Regions from separate parts of the Homo sapiens genome. Here region 2 is linked to region 1. Evidence: promoter capture Hi-C in 16 types of primary human blood cells and fetal thymus (Javierre and others, 2016). All regions are on one chromosome and are shown on one strand. The core of a region is centred on a gene start or on the middle of the fragment in contact, and the rest is flanking DNA. Distances in the headings are between cores, read along the strand shown.

Evidence for each region. Contacts are between HindIII fragments. The CHiCAGO score rates a contact against its expected background, and 5 or more counts as called.
Region 2: a contact is called between a fragment that was not itself captured here and the fragment with the promoter of RGS2 in region 1, in 1 of 17 cell types (monocytes). The highest score is 5.7, in monocytes.

Annotation. Positions count from the first base shown.
Region 1 is chr1:192,807,248-192,810,504 of GRCh38, forward strand. RGS2 (regulator of G protein signaling 2) reads left to right here and starts at 1,792. Exons shown (of 5, transcript NM_002923.4): 1 at 1,792-1,934; 2 at 2,919-3,020; 3 at 3,123-3,184. The coding sequence starts at 1,825. RefSeq lists silencers at 243-332, 1,269-1,478, 2,986-3,045 and an enhancer at 1,809-2,028. The HindIII fragment of the contact is 4,593 bases long and covers 1-3,008 here.
Region 2 is chr1:192,885,797-192,889,053 of GRCh38, forward strand. No RefSeq gene overlaps it. Among named protein-coding and RNA genes, the nearest start is that of RGS2-AS1, 61 kb to the right of the region's middle. RefSeq lists an enhancer at 1,578-2,111. The HindIII fragment of the contact is 291 bases long and covers 1,620-1,910 here.

The DNA.
Region 1 (3,257 bases), core at 542-3,041:
AAGCTAGTGTCCCAACAGTTACTTAGCATTTACTGGATAAGCCCAGGCTCTAACTGGGTCTCCTGACAGAAGTCCAGCTCTCTCTCTCTGCTGCCTCTTTGTCAGAACTCCTGGCCTGCCAGCGAATTTAACTGTCTATGAGTAAATTCTAACATCTAAGGTTCTAAGTATAAAATATATTGAGGTTTACAGTGGTGAGAAAAAGCAAGTGTCTGCGTATTACAGACAGCTGATAAATACGTATTGAGTCATCAGAAAGTGAAAATAGATGTAGGACTATTATGCAAAGCATAGGAGAGGAAGAGCATATGCTTAAGAAAAAATGGCATTCCTAGAGTTAACAAGCATGTTTCAAAGTATCTATTACTGAAATCTACACGATTTTCCTTTCCACAATAAAGTCCACAACTGTTGTCTTAAATAATAACTGCAGGTTTTGCCCTCCAAGTCAAACTTGGAGCTCCAACTACTGGCAGCTCACCGTAAGAATATATTAATTATTTCCAATTTCCTTTTAAGAAGTCGAATACAAAGTAGAGAGAATATCTGCAGCTTGGTTGCAAAGCCGCTTAAACATTTCACTGGCTAGTTCTGGTAATATTATCCGAAATCAACTCATTTTGTGGTTGAGGTAATCTATTTGTCTTTACCAATCAAGTCGTTTTAAAACCTTCAGGAGTAGAGATGATACTTGAAGAATTAACAAATAAAACTTAATCAAGGAAACTGTTAACTCATTCTCCCCCCTACTTTTTGCCAGTTATTAAATGTTCTGGTAAATCCTAACTCAACAAGAATGACTCATGAGGAAATCCTGACTCCTTGAACTCACTGATTCTGGTGCATTACAGCTATGAAATCTCTATGTCTGCAGCTTTCTCTCCCACCATAAGGAAATCTGTGATTTCTATTTTGGCAGGAGATGTGACCAAGGACTCCTGAGGAATGACCCTATAGACAGACCCAGCCACGTGCCTAGTAGTGATCAAAAATGCAAACCCAATTAAAGCACTGTCTTCTGATAAAGTCACTTTCTCTTGTTCAATCCCTAATGTTCATTCTCAAAGTGTTCCAAGACGCCCCAGCAAGCTGCAGAGCAGATCCCACCCTGCCCCTGGGCAATCAACGTTTCAGGTTACTCCTTCCTTAAGTTAAGTGGCAGAGAGAAACGGGCGAGGGTCTCCCCATTGCCTCAGTTCACAGACCAGGGGGTGTCGAATGAGTCCTACAGCAGGACAGCAAACAAGAAATGAGGCGCGGGGTCAGGGAACGCGCTCAAAAAAGGAAGAAAAATCCCACTCTTCATTCGAAATCAGGCCACTGCACTCCGGCCTCGTGGCGGGCGACCTCCTCCTGCCAGGGAATCGCCGCTCTGGCCTCGGGCTGGGGAGCCCGTCAGGGTGGGTGAGGGAGCGCCGGCGCCCCCGCCGGGCCGCCGCCAACTTCGGCTCCCTCCCTCCGTCGCAAAGCCCTCGAGCCCGCCCGGCCGCCACGCTTCAGCAAAAGGTCGTGCGCAGCGGCCCACACTGAAGACTCTCCATCTGCTCCCACACCTGCCCCAGCTGGCCGCTGCTATGTGGCCCGAGTGCGCAAGAAGCCGGGGCCGCAGACGTCAGCAGCGCCCCGGCTTCGAGACCCTTCGGCAGCAGCCGTGACTGCCGCCGGCGGGCGCTGACCCATCCCCGTGCCAGTCTGCAGCCGACCAATCCGCGTCCTCTTGAGGCGGGGCCGGAGCCGCGAGGCCCCGCCCCCAAGCCGAGGCCTCATAAATGCTGCGACGCACGCCCAGCCGCAAACAGCCGGGGCTCCAGCGGGAGAACGATAATGCAAAGTGCTATGTTCTTGGCTGTTCAACACGACTGCAGACCCATGGACAAGAGCGCAGGCAGTGGCCACAAGAGCGAGGAGAAGCGAGAAAAGATGAAACGGACCCTGTGAGTATGGCTTTCTTCCCTCTCCCGCCACCCCCTGCCCCACACTGCAAGCTGCAAACGCGGTACTTTCGGGCTCGCCTTTGACGTTAGGAAACTAGCCTGAGCCTATGCAGGGAAAAAAAATCGAAAAGGTCAATTTGTTAAGTAAGGTTAAATCTGGGTGATGCTCGGGTACAGTTTAAGAACCGAGGGAGACAGTTGATATGAGGGCGGTGGTTGATGCGCTAAGAAATTGCGGGTTGGCTTTTTGTCCTCCTGCATTCAAAATGACATCAGAATCCTGCGGCTGAAGCGCGTCCCCAGCATTCATACGTTGCATGATGAGTTCTCATCAGCTTACACAGCTACTGGAAGGTGATGCTCTTGCTGGTTCTGAATATACTCGTTTAAAATCCATTTTTGTTTTTTAATTATAGAGCAGATCTCACCCAGTCCGAATGTGGAACAAATAATTGTTATGCAGCGTCTGCTTAAAAGAAGTGTCGTAGGTGGGGAAGGAAGAGCGCAGGGGAATCAGTCACCCACCTCTTTGTACAGTCTCTGGCGTGGTCCAGAACCTCCTGCTCTAAAGAGAGAAGCGTGGGCCGGCTCCAGACAGTTCCATGTCTGTCCTTTTCATTAAAGTGCAAAACGTCTCGGAATTGTAATTAACCTTGCAAACAAACTGATGCCCTTTGTGAGCCAGAAATAGTGTCTGCCTTTTGAACTAAATTCATTAACAATTCTTTAAAATACCCTAGTGATTATAGGTAGCCCTGCCCTTAGTTGTAAAACTAGTAGATACGGTCAGATTAATGGACGAAACTGCTCAGTACATGAGGTTTAAATGTTAGGTGGATAAGACTTATTTGAAGAGTTCTTGCTTTGCCTTATGCGGTTTGTCTCTAGTTACTGGGTGACTTTATTTGGTAAAAATGCGTTCAGCTGCAGTAGCATATTCAAGTGTTGCTAGTTAGTAATTATCTTTTTAATTTTTTGTTTTAGTTTAAAAGATTGGAAGACCCGTTTGAGCTACTTCTTACAAAATTCCTCTACTCCTGGGAAGCCCAAAACCGGCAAAAAAAGCAAACAGCAAGCTTTCATCAAGTAAGTTGAGAATCCTGTGCTTGCAAATATCAATAGTTAGCTGCTGAACTGAAAAGGGGAACTCTGATGTGCGTAAGCTAACATACAGAACCTCTCTTGCAGGCCTTCTCCTGAGGAAGCACAGCTGTGGTCAGAAGCATTTGACGAGCTGCTAGCCAGCAAATGTAAGTTAACTCTTGAGCTTGAGCCATTGCTAACATCGCAAAAGCCTGGAAAGGCTGCGTCCACCTAACAAAA
Region 2 (3,257 bases), core at 515-3,014, 79 kb after region 1:
AGTTTGAGCAGAATTATGTGATTGCTGAATTCTTTCCTCTCTGCTTGGCAAAAATGATGGAAGTCTTGTCTCCAATTTTAACCCTATTTGCCTTTCTGCAACAATATGGTAGGTTGTTTACATGCGGGGTGGGGAAAGGGAAACTAAGAGTAAAAACCAACCATTTGTTACTTTGCAAAATGGAAATGTAACTCTGAAGATTAAGCAATCTTGACTGCTATCAAAATTAATTCCTGAACACTATGAAAAAGGAAAAAATGCATAGAAATTGATATTTTAAACATTAAATATTCAGCAGTTTCTCTTATTTGGCAAAATCTTTTTGAAGCAAAGCTGATCTCATTTTGGTTTAGATCACACCAAAGAATTTCCACCAAAAATGACTGAATTATTGCTATTTACAAAAATGGTTTTCATTCTGTGACATTTTTCTGTTTCAACCAAAATTGGTGTACTAAAAGTCATTTCTGGCACTGACCATTTAGAGTTAGTGCAGACTCCATAAGTTAAGGGCTTAATCCTTCACAAATCTTCTCTTACTTCAGATTCCAGCTGTACTTTGGCGGTCCCTAGGTCACCCACACTTCTGAGCAACTAGTGTTCCCATGACCCTCTTAGTGTTACTGGGGGTCCTTGCTCACAGAGCTCCCAAGATGGTGGCGAGCTGCTTCCAACATGGTGGCAGGCGCTTCCAAGGTGGTGGCAAGCCTCGTGTTCTCTGACTGGGGTTCTTGGCTTCACGGATTCCAAGGAATGGAATCTTGGGCCATGCGATGAGTGTTATAGCTCTATTAGAAGCTGTGGGTCATGAAAGAGAACCGTGGAACCCAGTGACTAGTGTTCAGCTCAATTAGGACAAACCCAGGCACTTAGCCGTGCAGGAACAATGGCAAGCCTTTAGCACGATCGGGAGTGGCAATGGGAGTCTCACTGGATCAGGAGCACAGCAGACACCCTGCTGGATCTGGAGGTATGGGAGTCAGCGGCAGGTCTGCGACAGTGGCAAACAGCAGTGGTGGATGGTGAGCAAAAGCTCAGCTCGAGCCATAACAAACATGGACCAGAAGAGTGCAGTTGCAAGATTTAATAGAGTGAAACAGAGTGAAAACAGAGCTCCCATACAAAGGGAGGGGACCCAAAGGGGGTTGCCGTTGCCGGCTCGAATGCCTGGGTTTATATCCCAATCCTTGTCCCTCCCGCTGTGCTCTCAGGCAATAGATGATTGACTATTTCTTTACCTCCTGTTTTTGCCTAATTAGCATTTTAGTGAGCTCTCTGATTGGTTGGGTGTGAGCTAAGTTGCAAGCCCCATGTTTAAAGGTGGATGTGGTCACCTTCCCAGCTAGGCTTAGATTCTTAGTCGGCCTAGGAAATCCAGCTAGTCCTGTCTCTCATTAGGTTCAATAATTTACTGGAACAACTCAGAACTCAGGAAAGTGTAATACTTAGGATTAGAGTTTTATTATATAGGATACATTCTGGATCAGCCAAATGAAAAGACACATGGGGAAGGTCTGAGAGGGTCCCTAGTGCACAATTTCTGTATCGTCTTCCTATCAAATCAAGTCATGGCACCTTCCCAGCACATCGATGTGTTCACCAACCAGGAAGCACCACTAAGCTTTGGTATTCAGTTTTTATTGAGGTTCCATTAGGTAGGCATACTTGATTAAATCATTAGCAACATGACTGAACTCAATCTCCACACCTTGTCCTCCCTGGAAGTCAGACTGGCTCAAAGTTTCAACCCTCCAATCACATGGTTGGTCCTTCTGGCGCCCAGCCCCTGTCCCAAAGCTATCGAATAGCCCACCGTGAGTCACCTCATTAGCATAAACTCAGGAACCATTCAGGAGGCTCAGGAATAACAAAAAGACTTCTATCTCTCAGGAAATTCCAAGGGTTTTAGAAGCTTCATGTCAGAAACCTGGGGCAAAGACCAGACAAATCCTCTATTACGTAGCAGACATTAAACCAAGAATGGCAAAATGACATAAAACCAACAAATATTTAAAAGACAAATAAGAATTCTGTGTTTGTTATTTATAGTACACATCTGAAGTATGAAAGTCATAAGTCTGGTGTAGATGACACAAAGATTTTGTGACTTGAATGTGTACCTCCAGGGTAAAAAAGCATTGATTCTATCCTAAGGAGGACTTACTTGGGCAAAAGACAAAGAGAAAACTGTTTTCTCTTCAGTACACTCTTTTTCTATTTCAATGCCCTCCCGTTTACCTAAATTTCCGTCTTGCTTATAGGTCCTTGTTAACTCTTTCTCCAAAGGTATTAAGTTCAATAAACATTTATTGAGCAACTTCAATGTACAACACACAATGTACAAAGGTCCCAGTCCTTACAAACCTGTCAGTCTAAACAAGATGACAATCATGTTGAAAATTAAGTGACATGACAAGGTAGAAACAAAATACTTTGCAGTGTTTGAAACATAAGCATTTAATGAGACAAATCATGGGGTGGCTAGAGGGAGGAAGCACTTCAAAAGAGTCTTGAAGAATGAGTAGGATCTCAGAACAGGATGAAAAGTCAAGAACTCTACCAAGCAGAGATGCAAAGACCCAGGAACTTGAAAACATGTTTGGTGAACCCACATGGCTGCAGTAAAAGGCATATGGCTAAGTATATTAGGATCTGAGGCTGAAGAGGCGATTGAGGCCTTATCATGGGGTGCTGTAAATTCTTTGCTTAGGAGTTTGAATGTTATTCTTCAGGCAATGGAAAGCCACTGGAAATTTTTGAAGAAGGATGCTTCATTGTGTCTCAAATTCTTCTTTAAGTCTCCAGGAACTCATAGACAAAAAATGAACCAATGAGGATATTATATAAATAATCCAGACAATAAATGACAAGGCGCTGTGGTACTGAACACAGAGCAAGAATACCAAAAAAGAGAACTAACAGAATTTAGTAATGGATTGTCGGAGCAGAAACAGGAGGAGTTGAGGATGATTTCCAAACATCCAGCCTGCCTGACTGAGAATGTGGTGTCACTGAAAGAAATGCAGAACCATCTTAGTCTATTCAGGCTGTTATAACAAAATACCGTAAACTGGGTGCCTTAAACAAGAAACATTTATTTTTTACAGTTTTGGAGGCTGGGAAATCCAAGATCAAGGTGCTGCCAATTTGGTTCCTGGTAAGGGCCTAATTTTGGGCCCCCAGATAGTCATCTTCTTGCTATGTCTTTACATGGAAGCTAGAAAGAGAAAGAGCCCTGGTCTCTTTTTATAAGAGCA